Regions from separate parts of the Homo sapiens genome. Here regions 1, 2, 3, 5 and 6 are each linked to region 4. Evidence: promoter capture Hi-C in 16 types of primary human blood cells and fetal thymus (Javierre and others, 2016). All regions are on one chromosome and are shown on one strand. The core of a region is centred on a gene start or on the middle of the fragment in contact, and the rest is flanking DNA. Distances in the headings are between cores, read along the strand shown.

What was found. The method cuts DNA at HindIII sites, captures the fragments that hold promoters and counts their contacts. A CHiCAGO score of 5 or more calls a contact.
Region 1: a contact is called between a fragment that was not itself captured here and the fragment with the promoter of TLNRD1 in region 4, in 8 of 17 cell types (total CD8 T cells, total CD4 T cells, activated CD4 T cells and 5 more). The highest score is 7.5, in total CD8 T cells.
Region 2: a contact is called between a fragment that was not itself captured here and the fragment with the promoter of TLNRD1 in region 4, in 3 of 17 cell types (neutrophils, naive CD8 T cells and total B cells). The highest score is 10.3, in neutrophils.
Region 3: a contact is called between a fragment that was not itself captured here and the fragment with the promoter of TLNRD1 in region 4, in 2 of 17 cell types (neutrophils and total CD8 T cells). The highest score is 8.0, in neutrophils.
Region 5: a fragment that was not itself captured here is called in contact with the fragment with the promoter of TLNRD1 in region 4 in 1 of 17 cell types (neutrophils); the score reaches 6.1 in neutrophils.
Region 6: the fragment with the promoter of STARD5 here is called in contact with the fragment with the promoter of TLNRD1 in region 4 in 7 of 17 cell types (neutrophils, naive CD4 T cells, activated CD4 T cells and 4 more); the score reaches 13.8 in neutrophils.

Annotation. Positions count from the first base shown.
Region 1 is chr15:81,289,369-81,292,875 of GRCh38, reverse strand. IL16 (interleukin 16) reads right to left here. Exons shown (of 19, transcript NM_172217.5): 11 at 2,336-2,423; 12 at 1-320. Among named protein-coding and RNA genes, the nearest start is that of STARD5, 33 kb to the left of the region's middle. RefSeq lists an enhancer at 235-364. The HindIII fragment of the contact is 1,760 bases long and covers 527-2,286 here.
Region 2 is chr15:81,403,957-81,407,272 of GRCh38, reverse strand. The region is part of intron 6 of TMC3-AS1 (TMC3 antisense RNA 1); the gene reads right to left. Among named protein-coding and RNA genes, the nearest start is that of TMC3, 31 kb to the right of the region's middle. The HindIII fragment of the contact is 1,860 bases long and covers 1,003-2,862 here.
Region 3 is chr15:81,340,299-81,343,680 of GRCh38, reverse strand. TMC3 (transmembrane channel like 3) reads left to right here. Exons shown (of 22, transcript NM_001080532.3): 15 at 336-403; 16 at 2,163-2,291. It overlaps TMC3-AS1 (TMC3 antisense RNA 1), which reads right to left. Exons shown (of 7, transcript NR_120365.1): 3 at 1,973-2,119. Among named protein-coding and RNA genes, the nearest start is that of TMC3-AS1, 18 kb to the right of the region's middle. The HindIII fragment of the contact is 744 bases long and covers 1,308-2,051 here.
Region 4 is chr15:80,999,280-81,002,978 of GRCh38, reverse strand. TLNRD1 (talin rod domain containing 1) reads right to left here and starts at 2,056. Exons shown (of 1, transcript NM_022566.3): 1 at 1-2,056. The coding sequence starts at 707. It overlaps LOC128071545, which reads right to left and starts at 837. Exons shown (of 1, transcript NM_001414893.1): 1 at 700-837. The coding sequence starts at 837. The coding sequence ends at 700. RefSeq lists an enhancer at 1-265 and silencers at 759-888, 1,239-1,698, 1,739-2,428. The HindIII fragment of the contact is 6,287 bases long and covers 1-3,699 here.
Region 5 is chr15:81,380,599-81,383,992 of GRCh38, reverse strand. All of the region lies in intron 6 of TMC3-AS1 (TMC3 antisense RNA 1), which reads right to left. Among named protein-coding and RNA genes, the nearest start is that of TMC3, 8.1 kb to the right of the region's middle. The HindIII fragment of the contact is 5,991 bases long and covers 1-3,394 here.
Region 6 is chr15:81,321,909-81,325,511 of GRCh38, reverse strand. It overlaps STARD5 (StAR related lipid transfer domain containing 5), which reads left to right and starts at 1,371. Exons shown (of 6, transcript NM_181900.3): 1 at 1,371-1,511; 2 at 2,564-2,613; 3 at 2,972-3,104. The coding sequence starts at 1,413. TMC3-AS1 (TMC3 antisense RNA 1) reads right to left here and starts at 1,179. Exons shown (of 7, transcript NR_120365.1): 1 at 951-1,179. RefSeq lists a silencer at 830-879. The HindIII fragment of the contact is 9,334 bases long and covers 1-2,790 here.

The sequences.
Region 1 (3,507 bases), core at 157-2,656, 290 kb before region 4:
TCTCAGCGGCGGGTGGCTGTCCCGGCTCTCTGGGAGGGGTGGGCTCTCCTGGGGCAGCCTGGAGGATGCTATAGAAAGCACCACTGGCTCCCGTGCCAGAGGCAAGCTGGGGCTGTGTGTGCTGATGTCCACGTCAGAGGACGGCTTCTCAGCACTGCCACTCCCAGGACTTCCCCCTGGGGACCCAGACATGTAGCTGCTGTCACTGCTGGAGCGGATCATGACCTTCTGAGCCCTGCGATGCGGGGGTGCTGAGTTCTTCTCTCGTTCCTTCTCCAAGGTGGGCCGCCCGTGCCAACTGCTTTCCAGCCTTTTGACACCTGTGTGGGAAGCACAAGAGAATCTTCACAGCTGAGCTTCAGAAAACAGAAATACCCCCTGGCCTCACCTGTGACTGCCACGGGCAGCACACTGCACATCGGCCATCTGCTTCTTATCTGAAGTCACTGTGGATCTGGAGTATGGCAGTCTTGGTGTTGGTCCCTGGCGAGCTGTATGACTTTGGGTTGGGAAAATCATTCAAGCTTTCTGAGCCTATGACTGATGTATATGGAGATATGCCACCCAGATCACCCATCGAGGAAGGGCTTGGTGTCCCAGCTGTGGGGAGTGCTGCTGGCAGACTACTTTCAGCTGTGGGTCCCTCCAGGGGCTGCCACAGCTGCAGACAGCTGCCTTGTCCAATGGGGCAGCCCATCTCCAGGGACTGCTGGAGATAGGGTTACAGAGGCCCAGCTATGTTGGCCAACATAGGACAACTCTAATGGGGACTTTGGCTGCAGAGCTCCAGGGCTTGGCTGAAGCTGTTGGGTGTGCACCTCAGCTCCGTCCTCCCTCTGTCTACCCTGCCTGCTCCCCTCCCTGCCACAGGTAGTGAACCCCAGGACACTGCCTGCAGACCAAACTCCATCTCAGAGTCAGCTTCCTGGGGGACCCAACTCCATTTCTGCATCTGTAAAATGAGGATGATAATTTTAAAGTCACTGGGGTTATTTTGAGGCTCAATAACAAAGACAGAGAAACTACCTGTCAAGGCACTTTGAATCTTACACGAAGAAGTCACTATTTCTTTCCAGTTGAGGGTGAGGTGAGGGCAGAAAGCCGCTATTTCTTAGCCACTGCACCTTCCTCCCTCCCTCCCCATTAGCCCTTCCTGGTTCTCAGTACCCCCTACCCTAGTTTCCAGCACTAGGGCTACCCACACATCCTTGAGAGGCCCTTCTCTCTAGTGGTAAGCTGTCAAGGGTGCCCCTTTCCTAAAATCACAGCTTGAAGGGGTGGGAGAGGATTGAAATCTAGTCTCTTGCTCAAATTCCAGCTCATTCTGAGAGACCAAGAAAGCCAGAGGAGCCCCATGAGAGAGAACCAAGGCCAGCCAAGCTCCTAACTCACTTTCTCTTTAAATAAAAAGTTTTCTTTTTTTTTTTCCTGATCATGAAATAATGCATCCTCCTTAGAGAAAACTCAGCCACAAGGAGGAAGGAATGAAAGTAAAAATTCACTTCACCTGTGTTCCTATCAGCCAGAAATAACTACTGTCAAAATTTTGGTGAGTTTCTCTGTCATGCTTTCCCGAGCATATATGCATGTTGGGTGGGTAGAAATAATAAACCAGAGCTGAAATAAATTGTGTTCTGTTCTTTTCTCTGAACATTTCCCCAGATCATTTAATTTCTTGTCAATATCAGTGCCAATGGTTGCATGTTGTTCTTTCATAAGGATGTTCCATGGTAGACGTGATTAATGCCCAATGGCTAGGCATGGGAGTCAAGCCAGCTGGATCTCCATTCCAGAGCCTCTGTGCTCTAGTGGTATGACTTTGAGTAAGAGAGTCTCTGAGGGCCTCACTTTTTCTTATAAAATTTGCATAAAAATTATGTGTGAATGCATGAATTAGCATAGTCTCTGATTTATTATAAGAATTATAAGAATTAAATAAATGTCAGAATTATATTCCCAAATGTTAGTTTTTCTAATATTCTATTATTATAAACTAGGGGCTGCAAACTCAAGTGCCTGCAGGGGCTATTGTGTGAATGGCAACTTGGTACAGGATAAAGGGAACGGTGGAGACCACCGGGAGCTGGAGAGAGCCTGGCACATTTGTAGCAATTTAAATTCAGATGCTTTTAAAATCTTGTGTCTTCCAAACAAAGCAAAAATATAAGCTAAATTTAGCTGGTGGGCTGCTAGTTTTCAGCCTTTGTCTACATACTATGCTGGTCTATGGTAAATGCTGTTACTATTCCTTGGATAGAGGATGAGTTAATGGATAAATCCTAAGCTTTCTAAGAAGGCAAAGATATTTTACATCAAAGTTCACCATTTGTCTTACCTTCCAGACTCCACTGATGCCTCTCCTTTCCAAACTTGGTGTTTTCCACAGCCTGGGCCACAGCTTCTTTGAGTTGCTGTTCAGAGACCTAGAAAATATCAGTCATCTCCTCAAACAAACAGTAGAAGCTCCTGCATCAGGCTCCCAGCCCCGTACCAGCTCCAAAGCTGGGCCACTGGATTCTAAATTATTTTATTTCAACCCACTCTGCAAATAGCTGATGAATTCCATTTCCAGAAATACCCCGGGAATCAATGGTTCCTCAGTATCTTCTAGATAAAGTCCAAAGTCTATCAATGCAGGGGTTCCCAAGGAGGCCCCCTCAACTCTCCAACCTTCTCCCCACTACTTGCTGGAAAATTCTAGGCAAAGTTACCACTTCATAGGTTATCTCTATGAGCTAGTCCGTTCTTGGCAATGCTGTCATGACATCATCATTATCAACAATATCGTAATAATCACAATCACTATTATACTGTCTGAGCTGTGACTCACAGTTTATTATCACTTTGGAGTAATAGTTAAGAGTATGAGTCCTAGAGTCAAAAAGGCTTGTGTTCTAGTCCCGGTTCCTCTACTGTCTAGGTGTGAACACCTAGACAAGTTACTTAACCTCCTGAGCCTCCATTTCTTCCTTCTGTAAAATAATAACAATAATAAAACCCACTTCAAAATGAGGACAGGTTTTTTAAAAATAAATTATTTGACATCAAAAGTACAGGAAACAAAAAAATAGATAAATTGGACTATGTGAAAATCAAAAACTTCTGTGCATCAAAAGGACATCATCAACAGATTGAAAAGGCAACTCATAGAATTGGAGAAAATATTCGCAAATCATATTTCAGATAAATAGTTGAGTTGCAGATTATATAAAGAACTCCTACAACTCAGCAACAACAACAACAACAAAACAACCTGATTAAAAACTGGGCACAGAACCTGAATAGACATTTCTTCAAAGAAGATATACAAACAGCCAAAAAGCAAATGAAAAAATGCTCAACATCACTAATGATTAGGTAAATGCAAATCACAACCACACTGAGTTACCACCTCACACACATTAGGACATTAGGATGGCTACTATAAACAAAAAGAAAAGAGGCTGGGCATGGTAGCTCATGCTTCTAATCCCAGCACTCTGGGAGGCTGAGGCAGGCAGATCACTT
Region 2 (3,316 bases), core at 683-3,182, 400 kb before region 4:
GGGAAAAGCAGAATCTTGTCCTTGCTGCCAATTTCTTGGTGCAATTTGCTAAAAATACACATTCTCTGTAGGCATGATTTGATTATATTTAAAATTTTTACAATTTTTGTGAACACTGAATCAAGGTCAGGAGCTCTATATTTGGTAAATTAGTGCTTTTTAAGAGAAAGGCAATGTATGGATTGGCTTCCAAGTACGAGTTGTATTTGAGTAGCAGTGGCTATCTTCATGACATATCTAGGTTTTCTAGTTTAAAGAAACTTTAGGTCTTAGTTTCAGTTTTTGGTTTTAAAAACTTTGATTAAAGAACTGCTTTGATAAACAGAAGCCACCAAGAGCTTCTTCTCATATATGTACTGCAAACATGCATGATCAAATACCAGTGATCTATGTCATCTAATTGCAACACAAAATAGCTCCTTGAACATGCACGATAAAAGCATATTTTTTAAAAAAAAGTTAAAAACATTACACTCATACAAATATAAAGCAAATGTGTGTCAATGAGCTGTTGATTTATTGATGAGGAAACCAGCAACGTGCACAGAATGATTGAAAGAAAAATTAGAGAAAAAAAAGATTACACAGTCTATTAGGAAAGGAATACCAAAATAAATTTGCTAAGTCAGAGATATAACTAGTTAATGTTTTGCATCTCCATTAGACAAAAATCTACAAGTTAACACGTGACTTCAGAGTCTTGGCTTTAATTAACAGAAAGTAGTTAATCAACAAGAGTCCATCTTTTAAAAAATGAAATAATGCTTGATGGGCCTGATAGATGCTGGTCTGGTATATGATATTGAAAGCACGAGCAATCTTCTTTTGCTTTATTTCTACATTTTGGATAATTTTTAAACAATAGCATTTGTTGTAATCTATCATGTGCCATTGCTATGATGTGGTGTCCAACAGTATGATCTGACTAGAATTGCAAAGATTAATTGATTATTTTCCCAGGTACAATACTTATCATTGGTTTTGTGGCTAACCCTGCAAGCTTCTTGGTAGTGGAATAACTTGTAGTTCTTTTTGCTGTGAGAAGTAGAACTCTAAAAGGTGCCTCCCTAGTTTATTTTTTCCATCTTTTCATCCTCCTCCTCCTCCTTTTTCTTTTTTTTTAAACAAACTTTTTATTTTGGAGTAGATTTACATTTACAGAAAAATTAAGGAACTAGTACAGAGAGATCCTGTGTACCCCACACAGTTTCCTCTGTTAGTAACATCTTATATTAATATGGTATATTTGTCACAATTAATGAACCAATATAGATACATTGTCATTAACCAAAGTCCATACTTCATTTAGATTGCTTTAGTTTATACCTAATGTCCTTTTTCTCTCCCAAGATCTTATTCAGGATACCATACTACATTTAATTGTCCTGTTTCCTTCGACTCCTCTTGGCCTTGAAAGTCTCTGAGTTTCCTCGGTTTTGATTACCTTGACACTTTTGAGGAGTGTTGGTCAGGTATTTTTGTAGAATATTCATCAATTTGTATTTGTCTAATGTTTTTCTCATTAGACTGGGATTATGGGGTAGGAGAGGAGGATCACAGGTACAGTGCCATTTTCATGATATCAAGGATACATACCATCAACATGACTGGTCATTGTTGATGTTGACCTTGGTCACCTGGCTGAGGTAGTTTGCCAGTCTTCTCCACTGTAAAGTTACTCTTCTCCCTCTATTTTCCACACTGTACTCTTTGGAAGGAAGTCAGTATATGCAGCCCACACGTAAGGAATGCGAATCATGCTCACTTTTCTTGAATGCAAATTATCTGTATTAGTCAGGGTTCTATAGAGAATCGGAACCAATAGGATGTATGTGTGTGTATATGTGGAGAGAAGGATTTATTATAAGGAATTGGCTCATGCAATTCTGGAGGCCAGGAAGTCAAAAATCTGCAGTGTGGGTTGTCAGGCTCAAGACTCAGGTAAGCCAAGAATATAGATGAAGTCCAAAGGCAGTCCACTGAAGAATTCCTTCCTGCTTGGGGAGGGCAGTCTTTTGGTTTGATTCATGGTTCGACTAATTGGATGAGACCCACCCATATAATGGAGGACAATCTGCTTTACTCAAAGTGCACCCATTTAAATGCTAATCACATCTGAAAACATCCTCCAAGTTAGCACACAAAATTAACCCTCACAGTATCTGCATAAATTATTTGAAATTCTTCTGCACTGGAGATTTGGCTATTCTTCTCCATTTATTTATTTATGCAGTCATTTTGTTTATATCAGTGTAGACCCATCAATATTTATTTTATATATTGGGTTATAATTCAGTACCACTTTGTTTATTTTGTTGCACAGCTTGTTCTGCCTTTGGCCATTGGGAGCTTTCTGTCAGTTCCTGTATCCTTGGCATAGGCCCATCAGTGTCAGTTTTTCTGTGCATTTCCTTATTACTAGCATTGCAAGATGTTTCTCCTCCATCCTTAGAATCATCCATTGCTCCAAGGAGCCCTCATTCCTTCTATCAGAGAATGGTATTAGAAACCAGGATCTGAGTTCTAACTTTACTTGCTACTACTTGGGTGTCATTTATTACCTCTAGTTCCTCTCAGCTGACAAAATAGAGAAATACATGTATACACGTATCTATATAACCCATGTACAGATACATCTATAAATATTCATGTACTATTTATATATTAAGCTAAATATGAGTTTATACAGATGTCTCCCACTCTAATCAATTACCCATGGATTATTCTAGCCTCCTCCCTTTGCTCGTCTGTAACTTCCCACTCCAACAGTGAGGAGCCTGGCTCCCACCCTCCATTACACTTCACTACCTCTTCATTTTTTACACTAAAATACATCAACTTTAGGGTGAAAATTACCAAGCTTATTTTAGAAAAACTCATTTGGCTCACCAAAGAGATGCTATACCTTATTTTTCACAAACCCTTGAAAGATTTCACAATGCCATTTTGAAAAACTTTGTAACAGAACACAATGGGACTGGTGGGTGAATGGATCAATGTTTATCAATACAATCTAATTTTCAGATGCTCATTCTTTTATTTCTTTAGTTCTTCTAAAAGAATGAAGACAACAATGTGACAGCATTTCAGCTGGTGACATCATTTCTCTTGTATCTTCATTTCTCTCAGCATATACAGATCAACCTCTGTCTTCACAGGTGCTCTATTTATTATTTACATCTAGTGTATTTTTCTGATTTGTAGTATATTCATTAAATTTTTAATCACTAACCACCTGCTTCAATGAGTCATTTTTGATATGCTTTCTTGTAAATTGGTATTATAACACTTCACGTCTTATTGTTTTTGTTTTGTT
Region 3 (3,382 bases), core at 430-2,929, 340 kb before region 4:
GTAGCTGGGACTATAGGCACATGCCACCATGCCCAGCTAGTTTTAAAAATTTCTTGTAGAGATGAGGTCTCACTATGTTGCCCAGGCTGACCTCGAACTCCTGACTACAAGTGATCCTCCTGCTCAGCCTCCCGAAGTGCTGGGATTACAGGCATAAGCTACAATGCCCAGCCCCACCCCTTTCTTAACATTTACCATTTGCTGGGATGGCCCCACAAGCACTGATCTCTAAGTGTTCATAAGAGCAAAGAAGTCTATATAGGTGTCTGTAATTAATTGGTTCATGCAAAGAACTTTGGAACTTGTTTAATGCACAAGTTTATTTTCTCTTGTAGCCTGAATATGGAGAATTCAAAATAGCTGAGAATGTGCTACATTTAGTCTACAACCAAGGAATGATTTGGTAGGTATCAAAGTTTCTTCTTGCCTTTGCTTACATCTCATCTGGGCTAAGATTTTAATTTACTTAGTCTAGATGGGACACGACCATAACACAGTTACATAAGCATTAAGAAGGGATGTTTCCAAGATTATTATTTCACATGTATATTACTTTTATTAATGGTTTCCTAAGAATTTTGCAGGAAGAAATTAAAAAGAAAATAATCCATGTTTAAGCTACTATTGGTCGCAGCCGAAAAAAATCTGCACAGAAACCAGTAGAATACACTCTTAGGGAGGACTTGGGGAAGGCTGGAAGGAGAGGCTGCTTCTCCCTCGTGAGGACTTCAGGAGTGGCTGCGGGGGACCTTGGCCAGTCTGTCCTCGCTCGCCACCCTCCCTCCATTTCCTCCTAATTTTCACTTAGACACTGGGCCCAGGAGTACAGCCATCCCCTAGACTGCTCCCCACCCTTGGGGAGGCAGGAAGTAGGGAAGTCTGTTCACCCATGGCGCCTCCCAGCCCATGGCATTCCTGTCCTTGGAGACACTGAGGAGCTGATTTTACCTGTTGGACCAGAATAGTGCTATTTGTTAAAACACAAGCAAACAAACGAACAAAAAACAAGAACTTGGGATATTCCATACATCCAGAAAACATTCTCTTCATAATCATTCAGTAAAATACATGGCAATTGAGAGGTACAAAGTAATACGCCTCCTGTCAAATTCTTAGAGCCACTGTATTTTGCAAAATATCTTTACAAATACAGTATTAAAAATAATAGGTGACATTTATTTAATAGTGCTAGATATCAAGTACTTTTCTACCTGTAGTAACTGATTTAATCCTTATAGTAAACCCATGAAGTAACTGCTATTATTTTCCCCTTTTTAAAGATGAGAAAACTGAAGTGCAGAGAAGCTTAGTGTCTTGCCTAACATCCAACAGATAATGATAACTGAACATTTCTTGTTAGAAACATTTTACTTAGGAAACATACTCTTATGTCCATGTTTATTTTCATACCACTAAATCCAAATTCCACAAGTATTAGATTGAATACGTATCCAATATAAACTGATTTAGACTTAAGTCTGAAGACATGGGTTTTGTCGCCTAGCTGCCATTTCTTTTCAGGGTGACCATAAGTCCCAGCTTCCCTGGGATGATCTGGTTCTTGTCTGTGGGCTCAGTTCTTTCATTCCCCAAATCTCCCAGGTTTGGATGATATAGAGTCAGCCTTAGCAACATGTCTTTGGTTTCCCCATATCTGCCCTTGTTGTCTATCAACTGGATATTTACCTCTCCTCTCACTATTGCAGAAGAGTAAACAAACTGAAATGTGTGAGGATGCTTAATGCCATATCCAGCAAAACTAGGTGCCCAAAATATGTTGATTAAACCTGAAAGGCAGTAATTTATTAGCACAGTCCTCATCATAGACAAGCAAAACCAGGAGCTGGCCCCAAATAGTAGTTATCCATTATTTGCCTCCTTCCCAGAGGATTTTCCTTTGCTCAGCTGTGAAAAGAGAGACAAACAGTTGTCCTTTGCAAATATAATATTTTAAAATAGGATCAATACCCACCTTCAGTGACTTGTCTTATCTTTAGAAGGTGGAGGGTTGTGGTCTCGGGACTTCAGGGGCTTTTCCAGTCCTTTAAGCTTAGGGTATAATCCCCAAAGTGTCAGAACCATGTTCCTGCATGGGGCTTCCATAGTCCTGGGAGATAGGCTGAAAGAGAACAGATGCAAACTGACCTTCCTCATGGTTCCAGGATGGGGGCCTTCTTCTCCCCATGTCTCCCAGCGTTCAACGTTCTCAAACTCATTGGGCTCATGTACCTGAGAAGCTGGGCTGTGCTGACCTGCAATGTGCCCCACCAGCAAGTATTTCGAGCCTCAAGGTGAGTAAGAATAAGATCTGATCATGCAGATAACTATATATACATATATATAATCCATGCCTGCCTTACCCAGGGGTCCTCTAGCAAAGGGTCCCCCCAACTCTCTTCCTGTCAAAATCTTGCCTGTCCTCCAATTTTGTCTCCTCCAAGAGCCATTTCCAATGTCTTACTCTTTCAATGAATCATTACTCCTCTTGAACTCATGACACTTTTAAAACGTTTTGCCGAAGTTTAATAATCCTTTAGAAAAAAAGTACACAAATCGTAAATGTTTAGCTTGATTAGTTTTCAAAAACTGAACACAAGGCACTCAGATCAAAAAACAAAACACAAATGGCAACCAGAGCATGCCCACTTGTATGTCATTCCAATCACTGCCAACTTCTAATGGCATAATTAGGCTTGCCTGGGTTTTACTTGATGTAAACGTAATCACACACACACACAGTATGTGCTCCTTTGTGCCCAACTGCTTACACGCAACATTGTGTTTGTGAGATTCAACTCACTGAGAAAATATACCCCAATTTCTTTATCCTGGCTCCTGTTGACGGGCATGTAGGTTGCTTCCAGCTGTTAGCCATAATGAGTAATGCTGCCTTGAACATCCTAAGTATCTTTGTTGCATATATACCTAGGAATGCAATTGCTGGGACACAGGGCATGCATATGTTCACCTTTAGCAAATAGCACCAAAAAGTTTTCTAAAATGAACACCCCATTTTACATGTCTAGCAGCATTATATGAGAGTTCCAAGTGTTTTATAACCTTGCCAACACTTATTCTTTTAACTGTTTTAATTTTACCAACTTTGGTGAATTCATAACACATTCTAAATACTTTGATTCAGTTATTTTACTTTGACATATGGTTATGTGTGTCTATATCAGTGGCTTTCAAACTTTTGCTCATGACCTACTTGACAATGCATTTTATCTGATGACAGTACACATATATTAATACATTCAGAGATATGTTTTGATATATTTATATATGTTATATATGTGTATGTATATTTATTATATGTATGTATGTCTGTGGATAGACAAAGATAAAGAAGTTTCACAACTTATCACTCTCCTACTACATT
Region 4 (3,699 bases), core at 807-3,306:
TTCACCTCGCGCACGCAGGCCAGCAGCGCCGACGCGCTGGTGCTCATGCACTTGACGCCCAGCTTGAACTGCTCCCGCGAAAAGCGGTCCCGTGACTTGTCACTGGCCAGGGCGCACGCGTCCGTCAGGAACTTGAGGTTGCGCGACAGGCCCTGCGACACCTCCAGCAGCAGCTGCGGCGTCATGTCGGCCAGCGGCGTGGCGCGCAGCACGGCGCAACCCTGCTCCACCTCGTGGCGGCATCGCGTCACGCGGTAGCGGTCCACCAGGCCCGGCTGCGCGGGCTGGGCGCCCGGCGTGGCCACAGCGGCCAGATAGGCCGCGTGGGCCGAGCACTCGGTCAGCGACACCACCAGGTCGCCCAGCTCCACCAGGCTGTCCCCCGCCTCCCCGAAGCGGCCCATGTTGAGCTGGCTCTGCACGTCGTGGGTGAGGATGGAGAGCCCCTTGGTGCGCGCGATGATGGTGTCCCGGCACTGCTCGAAGGACTCGGCGCCGGCACCAGAGGAGGCGGGGCCCTCGAAGAGCACGGGCCGCGCCTCGCTCGACAGCAGCAGCAGGTCAGCCACCAGCTGCATCTTGCCCTTGCAGTGGTCGCAGACGGATACCAGCCTCTTCCGCGGCTGCGAGCTGGCCCCGCCGATGGCGCTCGCAGGAGCCGGAGAAGCCGCCTCGCCAGTGGGCTTCCCGGCGCTGCCGCTAGCCATCGCGCCCGGGGGGCACTGGCATGCCGCTGGGGAGCCCGCTACCACCGCCGCTGCCGCGGCCACTGCCGCCGCCCCGGCGGCCGTCGCGACTCAGCTGGCCAAGGCCGCGGTGCCTTCCCCGCACCATCATGCCATCCACCGCCGCGGGCAGAGGGCACTGGGCTGCGGCGGCGGGAGCCCGGGCGGCGCGGGGTGGGCCCGAGGGCGAGAGAACGCGGAAGGCTCTTCGGGGCAAGGGGAGGGGCTGCAGCTTTCGGCCTCCTAGAGGGCTTGCAGGAACCATGAACCGGGGCAGAGCAAACTCACTGTCCGCGCTCCTCGTCGCCGGGCTGCCAGGAAAGTCCCTTCTGCTGGTTCGCCGCCGCCGCCGCCTTCTTGGGCATGGCCTGGCGCGGCCCTCGGAGCGGGGAGGGCGGGACGGGGAAGCTGGGAGTTGTCCTTCCTTCCTTCCTTTCTTTGAAATCAAAATCCTTTCCTCGGGGAGGAGCGCGGGAGGCAGCTCAGGCGGGCTGTGCTGTCAGCCGCCGCGCTCGAGGCCACCTCGGGCTCGGCGGCGCACGTGGGCTTCAGGCGCCGTGACCCCACCAGGCGGCACTTCCCCGCGACGGCGGCCGGGGCTGGCTCTCTGGGACGCGCGGCCGCCCCGGGCGCATCTCCTGCCTCCAGCTCTTGGGAAGCGGCGCCGGCGGCAGCGGGGCAGAGGGTGTGGCCGGCACTGTCGCGGCCGCGCCGAGTCAGAGTCGGGCGGGAGCCTGCACTGATTGCGCACAGCGGCCGCCCGGATCGCGCTCAAGCTCTCGCCCGCCCGCCACACGCCCGGGCGTGCCGAGCACCACGGCGGCCCCTTCCCGCCTCGCCGGTTCACAGAGCGCGGCCCGGCGCCGCGGCGGCACGCCCTCCCAGACCGCGCGCCCGGCGGCCCGGCGCTGGCTGTCTACGCAAGTCCATCCCTGTCGCCTCGTCTGGGGCCCGCAGCAGCTGAGCTCTCCCGAGGCCCCGGGCCCCGCGCATCGGACGCCCCTGCACGAGTCTCCCTGCCACCGGGCCAACTCAGAAGGTCCCCGCGGCGCTGCGGCAACCGGCCCGGGCCCCGGCTCCTGCCATTTTTGTCAACCGCCAACTTCCGAGCGAGCGGGCAGAAACTGAAAGGAAGGGCGGGGGCCGAAAGGCAGAGGGGAAAACACCCGCTTCCTCTCCGCGCGCGGCTTCACCTCGGAGCGCGGCCGTGGCTGCGCCGCCGCCCGCAGGGGCTGCCGGAGGCTTTTCCTGTTCCCGTCCGCGCCTCGCCCCCGGGCTCGCCGCCGCCGCCGCCTCGGCCGTAACCTCCCTGGAGCCTATAGAAATCTTTTGTGTGGCGTCACCGCCTTTCGTTTAAATCCCGCTTCCTCCTCTCGCCCTTCCTCCCGCCCCCTCCGCCGCTCCCGGATGCTTGCGCGATGCGCTGCTCCTCCCCCGGGAAGCTGGGTGGCTGCGGGGGACGCCGCCGCCCAACGCGGACGCTGCCGGCGTGGGGCCGGTGGTCCTGAACTCCCCCGTGGTCCTGGGCCGAGAGACTGGGGGAGCGGACAGGGGAAGGCCTGCTCCGGCCCGGGGGCTCTGCGCACACCCATGGGAGACCGGGGCGCAGCCGCCCGCGGGCCTTACGTAAGCTCTTAGCCGGACCAGGGGGCTCCACGCTTCCTCCCCGCCAAGAGAGCAAGTCTAAAAGGTGACCTGGCTTCTGGGCTGAAGGGAGGAGGACACTGGATTTCGGCCCCTGGTGATTTGCTGGGGCCGGTGGGTCGTCTCGGTCTGCGCGACTTCGCCCGGTTTTCCAACGCCCCCTGCCCTTTGTTGTGTTTGATCCACTTCCACGATGGGTTTCCGACCAGCAGTGCAGTGTAACGAAAAGAGGAAAAGAGCACTGGATGGGGAGTCCGAAGAGTGGTGCTAGATGCCTGCCCGTTCCTCCCTTGAAATACGCCTTATGCAGTGAGAGCGCGGGTTCTGAAGCAGATTTCCTAGGATCAGCCTTTCTCAAGCCATTTATGAGTTCCATGACATTGTTCAAGTTCTCTTTCCAAGTATCCGTCTTCTCTTCTAGAAATTAGAGATTGTGCACAGGCTGCTTGAGTACTTGGTTCCTAAACAGTAGCTGTTAGAATTATTATGAGCCCTGATCAGCGCACTTTGCCCTCTCATAACGTCTATTTATTCGTCTGTATAATGGAATAATAGTGGCTGCTGTTAAATGAATTAAATACGACGGCGTTTGGAGGGAAACATTACTACTCCAGTTTTACAGATAAGGAAACTGATGATCAGGTGCTTGAAGTGACTTCCGAAGATCAGGAAGACAGCATATGGCAGGGACAGGAACCCACGCCTACGCCCCAGCCTCTTTTTACCGAACCTTGTTCTTCAGGAAGTGGTTAAAACACCTGGGCTACTCCCAGCAAAACGCCAGTCACGCAGTCCTGAAACAGGTCCTCTAAGGTGCCCAGCCCAACACAGGCTGGGCGTGCTGAGCCAACAGAATGTTTGTTCCTCTGTCCCTTCCTAGAACCCCAAGTCACCTTTCTCCAGCCAGTTAAAAACGTTACTTTTAACTAGGATGACGTTTCAATTTATCGGCCATATCCAAGCATTTCTGAGAATGAACTGTGAGACATGCTATTAATAAATTAACCATGAACAGCAGGTTCAAACCTGGATGGATAGTCATCCTACTTATAACTGAAAGTATCCTTAAATATCTTTAGAATCCGGATGAGCCCACTTAGTTTGCAAACCGAGGTCAATAAAACTGACTTGAAATAGGAAGTAATTATGTAGGGTTAATTCCTTTTTTTCTTCTACAAGAGAAAAAAAAAACAGCTGGATAAGTCAAGGTTTTTCCATGGTGACCCAGGGATTGCACCTTAGTCCTTCTTAAGCTCCAAAAACTTATGAGAGGGGGCCGAAAGCGATGGCTCACACCTGTAATCCCAGCACTTTGGGAGGCCAAGGCAGG
Region 5 (3,394 bases), core at 544-3,043, 380 kb before region 4:
TACTAAATGCTTTGTATTAGTCTGTTCTCATGCTGCTGACAAGGACATACCCAAGACTGGGTAATTTATAAAGAAAAAGGGCCGGGCGCAGTGGCTCACGCCTGAAATCATAGCACTTTGGGAGGCCGAGGTGGGCAGATCACCTGAGGTCGGAGTTTGAGACCAGCCTGCCCAACATGGCCAAACCCTGTCTCTATTAAAAATACAAAAAATTATCTGGGTGTGGTGGCAGGCACCTGTAATCCCAGCTACTTGAGAGGCTGAGGCAGAAGAATAGCTTGAACCCGGGAGGTGGAGGTTGCAGTGAGCCAAGACCGCACCACTGCACTCCAGCCTGGGCAACAAGAGCCAAACTCCATCTAAAAAAAAAAGAAAAAGAAAAAAAGAAAAGAAAAAGAGGTTTAATGGACTGACAGTTCCACATGACTGGGGAGGCCTCACAATCATGGTGGAAGGCAAAAGTCACATTTTACGTGGCGGCAGACAAGAGAGAAAGAGAGCCAAGTGAAAGGGGTTTCCCCTTATAAAACCATCAGATCTCATGAGACTTATTCACTACCACAAGAACAGTATGGGGAAAACTGCCCCCAGGATTCCATTATCTCCCAAAAGGTCCCTCCTACAACATGTGGGAATTATGGGAGCTACAATTCAAGATGAGATTTGGATGGGGACCCAGCCAAACTATATCATGCTTCAAGAAGTTTCCGGGAGACTTGGTAAAATGGAAGGAGATTAAAGAAAGTTCCCTAAGTCAGAACCCTCATCTACAGGGAATTTGTAGCCCATTTAATAGGAAGTATCTAGAGTCCTACCAACACTACTATTTCAGAGGTGCATGGGCTAGACATGAAGATGGTGGGAGAGATAGGGACCGTTTCTTGTTCCACACCCTTTCTTGCTATAGCTTAAAAACATTTAAATGATAAACAAAATGTGGAATATGCCTACAGTGAGATATTATTCAGCCTTAAAAAAGAAGGAATTTCTGACACATACCACAACATGAATGGACCTCGAAGACATTACGCTGAGTGAAATCAGCCAGTCACAAAAACAAATACTGTATGACTCCACCCTCATAGGTACCTAGAGTAATCAGCTTCCTAGAGACAGAAAGAAGAATGGCGGTTGTCAGGGGCTGGTGGGGCAGGGGAAAATGAGGGCTTGTTGTTTAGTGGGTATGGGGGGTTTCTGTTGAGGAAGATGAATAAAGTCCTGAATATGAATACTCGTGATGATTGCCAAACAATGTGCATGTTCTTAATGCCACTGAACTGGACACTTAAAAACGGTAACATGTAAGTTTATGTTATGTGTATTTTGCCACAGTAAAGAAAAAAAATTCAGAATTAGATTGGAGGGGATGTGAAGGATCAAAACAAGAGTGGCCGTTCTAAACAAGAAGTCTCCAGGCATGGGTGTTTTTCACTGATTCTGATTCTCTCTGCTGTGGTGAGATCCTGTCCCTGTTGTGGAAAAGTTCTTGAGAGGGACACTAAGCCACATCGAAGACCTGAGGAAGAGGCCATGCTGAACAAAGGAATACAAGAAGTGGCCGGGCACGGTCGCTCACGCCTGTAATCCCAGCACTTTGGGAGGCCGAGATGGGCAGATCACTTAAGGCCAGGAGTTTGAGACCAGTCTGGCCAACATGGTGAAAATCCGGCTCTACTAAAAATACAAAATTAGCCGGGTGTTATGGTGCACACCTGTAATCCCAGCTACTCTGGAGGCTGAGGTGGGAGAATCGCTTCAACCCGGGAGGAGGCGGTTGCAGTGAGCCAAGATCGCACCACTGCACTCCAGCCTGGGCGACAGAGCAAGACTTTGTGTCAAAATAAACAAAAAACAAACACACAAACAACACACCAAAAACAAAGGAATACAAGAAGAGAACTGCCCTCCTGTATAAGAAAGAAGGAGTCAACAGAACAAACACCAAATTCTTCTTTTTAGAGTGCTCCCAGCCTCACCTTTTTCTCCACTCCCTCAGCCTACAAAGTCATCATGCAGCAGCCTTCACCAGTAAGCATATGAAAGATGAAGTCCCATAGCATTCCTGGGAACAGGGAGGGAAGCCAGAGAACACTCACTCACAGGATGGGGGCGCAAACACAGAAATTCTGCAGCATAAAAAAGGAAATGAATGCAGCATGCCAGAGGTAAAGAAAAACGCAGATTTTAGAAAGGAGCTTTCTACAGAAAGCAAAATGTAAATTTTAGACATTTGCTTCTCTCACTCAGTGAAATAAAATGAAATCATTGTCTCTGAAATAAGGGACGCAAATTAAGAGAAGAAGAAGAGATAGTGACTTTATAAAGGAAACCAGCAGAGTTAAAAAAAATGTAAGTGGAGATTGACATAGTAAAATGAAAACCTGGATTAGCATAATCCCAAGAAAAATGGCAACAGTAATCTAAGCCCCTCAGTAGCTTTAAATAAAAGGCTAAGGTCAAGGGCTATAAAAATAAGAGAACATTAAATAACACTGGAGAAAAGGAAGTATGTCACCATATAAGACATTTCAATGAGCTTCTTTAAGATGCAATTCAGACAGAACAAACTACCAACCTGTAGTAGGTCATCAATGATTTAATCACAATCCACACTTTACCATTTACGCTTTCTGTTCAGGAAGTCAAACAGTCCTGGCAGAGCAGTATAACCATCTACTAATTCAAGAGATAAAATTCGCAGGCAACAGTAGCCATGAAGAGCTTTTTCAGTCAGGGTTCAATTGGAGAAACAGAACCAATATATAGAATTTATAACAGGGATTAGGATCTGCACAATGGTGAGACTGGTTGTGAAATCTCTGTAAAGGTAGTATCTGATACTGGGCTGAATTTGTTCTATATCGCCTGGACTGGGAGTTAGGAAGGAGAGTTGGGTGTGAAATTGAGGAAGTAGAGGACAAGAGGTATTTTCCCATTTCCCCTCAAAAGGATGAAATAGAGCCCACCTCTCTTTCTCACCACCTCCCACCCAAAAGATGCAGAAGACCTACTGGAAAAGTTGGTGGCTTTCACCATGGAGCTGTACACACATCTGGCCCAGGGCTCAGAGGAGCTGAAGGAAGAGATCCAGTGGGAGCTGAGGTTGTGCGAGGCTCAGGATATGGCCCCACCCGCAAGGCAAGGCTAGCAGATGACAGACCTGTGTGAGCTGCCACAGCATCTGGTGCCCTTTACCCACCTCAGAGCACACAAAATGGCAGCTCCTTCTCTTACATCTTCCAAGACTTAGACACACAAGTCTCTTTGTGGCCAGCAACACACAGAGAATGGAATACTAGAAAACACATTTCCAGCTTAGCTATGTTAGCTCAGTAAAAAGCACCCCCAGGAGATATGAAGACTGTTTGTTTGCAATCTCTTTTACCACTCCAGA
Region 6 (3,603 bases), core at 122-2,621, 320 kb before region 4:
CCCACCTCAGCCCCCCCAAGTAGCTGGGATTACAGCCCCGCGCCACCATGCCCGGCTAATTTTTGAATTTTTAGTAGAGACGGAGTCTCGCCATGCTGCTCAGGCTGGTCTCGAACTCCTAGGTTCAAGTGATCTCCTGCCTCAGCCTCCCAAAGTGCTGGGATTACAGGCGTGAGCCACCGGACCCCGCCAGGAACATTTATGATGTATCCCATTTCACCTTGGAGTAAACTGAAGCTCAAAGAATAATGAGTGAAACTGGGTTTAGATCTTGAGCTCCCTAATTCCCCATCCAGGTCTTCTTCACAGCCTGGCTGCCCTTCACATCTTCCAAAAAGGTCTTTCAAGTTGTCAATTTGTTTACACTACTCTTCCAAACATTTATATCGAAAGTTTAAAGGAAACAATAAGTACATAAAAAAGAAAGATAAGAAATAGACCTCAGTATTAACCTTTTCAAATATTTAGTTGGTGATAGCGCAGAAGAGGGGAAACCGAGGCTGTCCTTGCCATTCACGCTGTGAAGATGCGACCCTGGCTCACTCCCCGCAGCTCCAGGGCAGCTGGAAGCAGAGAACTCCCATATCTCTAATAAAGCCGGGCCTCTCGCAGATGTCAGCGCATTGCATTGACTCCTGGACACCTGCACTAAAGGCCCTTCAGGCACCTCCAACTAAATATGCCCAGAACTGAACTCACCCTATCTCTTCTCCATCTCAGGTAAGCTGCCAGGTGGCCAAGGCTGGGAGTCATGATGCTTTCTCCTTCTGAACATCCACAATCGGGGGCAGAGACCTTCACCTTCCATCTCCTAAACACTCTACGATGGGTCCTCTTCTCTTCACCCCCACTCCCCGCACCCCTGCCACACACCTCTCCCACCATTGCACGCGCCCAGTCTCCACGCGCATTTCCTCTCCCACCCTGCAGCAGCCGCCCTAGCATATTACCTCTAATGCAAATCGCACCACTGTCCCGCAGGCTGAAAGCCTCGGTGCACTCAGGACAAGAGTCCACGCTTCTTAAACAAACGGTCGACGTTGTCCGCGACCTGGCCCGGCCCAACGGGTCAGACCGTCATTGGCCATCTCACAGTCCCGGCGCTCCAGAGCCCCTCCCACAGCGGGACATGAAGGAGGCGGATACGGCTGGACCTTACCCGGCCCGCCCAAGGCGTCCGGGACCCGCCCAGGCGCTGACGCTAACTGGAGAGCCTGGCCCCGCGGTCTCCTTGTCCTGCCAATCTCCGGGAGGCGGGATCCGTCTGAGGGCCTGGACCAATTCGGGAGCGGGGGCGCGGAAAGAGGCGGGGCTACGAGCTCCTCCCAGAGCTCCAGCCTCCAGGCACCCGGGATCCAGCGCCGCCGCTCATAACACCCGCGACCCCGCAGCTAAGCGCAGCTCCCGACGCAATGGACCCGGCGCTGGCAGCCCAGATGAGCGAGGCTGTGGCCGAGAAGATGCTCCAGTACCGGCGGGACACAGCAGGCTGGAAGATTTGCCGGGAAGGCGTGAGTGAGGAGCTGGGCGGGAAGGGGTCGCGGAGACGGCTTCGTGGAGCCCGGGTCCCCAGAAGCCCCCAAGCGCCTCCTCTCCCCGTTGTTTTCTGCTCCCCAATCCCCTGGACCCGATTGAGAGGGATTCCAATGGGGATTGTTTTCTTCTTTAAAAAAAAGATTGGGCCTGTTATGCTCACAATGACTTCAGGTGGTAAGTATCTGTTCCTTTCACTCAGTGACTTGCCCAAGGTCACCTGGCTGTTGAATGCTGTTTAGGACTGGATGTTTCTGTGACAGTGGTAAAAGTAAATAAATTGCATTTAAGGGGTAAGCAGGTGTTTAAAAACAAAACAAAATGAAAGAATGTGGTCGCAGCTAAGGAGGTTTTTACATGTTGTTTAAATCCAGTAAAGTCTGATCCAGCATCTGATGCATACTAAGGTTTTCTTCTGTGTTCATTACAGCATGAACCCCTCTCTTTGTCGTTGCCAGAGGGTAGCATGGGAGTAGTTTTGCTTGACCCTTCTGACTTTTCATTACAGCATGAACCCCTCTCTTTGTCGTTGCCAGAGGGTAACATGGGAGTAGTTTTGCTTGACCCTTCTGACTTTTCATTACAGCATGAACCCCTCTCTTTGTCGTTGCCAGAGGGTAGCATGGGAGTAGTTTTGCTTGACCCTTCTGACTTTTCATTACAGCATGAACCCCTCTCTTTGTCGTTGCCAGAGGGTAGCATGGGAGTAGTTTTGCTTGACCCTTCTGACTTTTCATTAAGTAGCCCTGGGTTGCTCAAGGAAACAGAATGCCTGGTGGCTTTTAAGATAATTTTAAAAACCACCCACGGCTCTTGGAGTCAGCCAGTTAAGATCTTTTTCTTCATCACATTCTGCTGTGGGGACAGCTTTGCCCAAGACTAGTCCCAGCTTTTCCACGTATGGGTTGCACAGCCTTGGAGAGTCGTATCTCTTGAGGCCTCTTACCCCTCTTCTGTAGAACAGGGGATTAAGCCAGGTGACCAGAGCCCTTCTAGCTCTAAAATTCTGTGGTTCTGTGCCTTTTGACAGAATGGAGTTTCAGTTTCCTGGAGGCCATCTGTGGAGTTTCCAGGGAACCTGTAAGTGCATGCCTCGTTCAAAGATTACCAGAGGTGCCGCACCCTTCCTGGTATCTTTATGGGCCTGCCTCCTAAAATATTCAAATCAACCCTATAACCTGTGATCACTTGTCCTCCAGAAAAGCCTTACTGTTTTTAATGAAATCATTTCCAGCAAACTGTATTCTTGTGAAAGCTTACTGTCCATTTCTGCAGGCCTGAAGGGAGGCGGGGCTAGTGACTTTCAGCCCCTTCTCTGCAAGTCTGTCCTAAAGAGTAGTGACAGACATGGCATGGTCCACCTTCTAGTCCTTAGATACAATCTCAAGATAACAAGTTTGATTGATGCGTTGGGGTCAAATTCCTTTTCGTGCTCCAGGTACCGAGGAGAAGGCATTGTATATGGGACACTAGAGGAGGTGTGGGACTGTGTGAAGCCAGCTGTTGGAGGCCTACGAGTGAAGTGGGATGAGAATGTGACCGGTTTTGAAATTATCCAAAGCATCACTGACGTAAGTCTTTCCAAGCATGTTATCTCTAGATAGTGTCTGGGCCAGGCTATAGTAACCCCCTCCCATTTCTTCTGGAAGGGGTCCGTGATACCTTTTGTTAAGGGGGTGTGTCCTGCAAGCACAGGCTGCCCACTGCTTGCAGCATTGGAGGCCTGCCTCAGCCCAGTTTCCCGGTGGGAAACCTCATGACTCAGAGAGGGAGAGAAGCCCCAAACAGAGTCTCTGCGGGGAGCATACCTGTTCCTTGTGTGGGGCTGCTGCACTAGGCAACACAGGATCCTCAGCCCCTGGCACCCACTTCCCTGAAGCCTGGGCCAGTAGCAGCTCCACGTACCTGCATGACCCCAGTTACCCTCTGGTATGAGGGTCTTCACGCTTTTTGCTTACATGCATCCAACAGATTTTTGAGAAATTATGCATCATCCTCACACATCCAGTTGATGTCTATTAATAACATTTAGTTTACAACTAAATTTTCATAAGTTGCAAAGCATGTCAT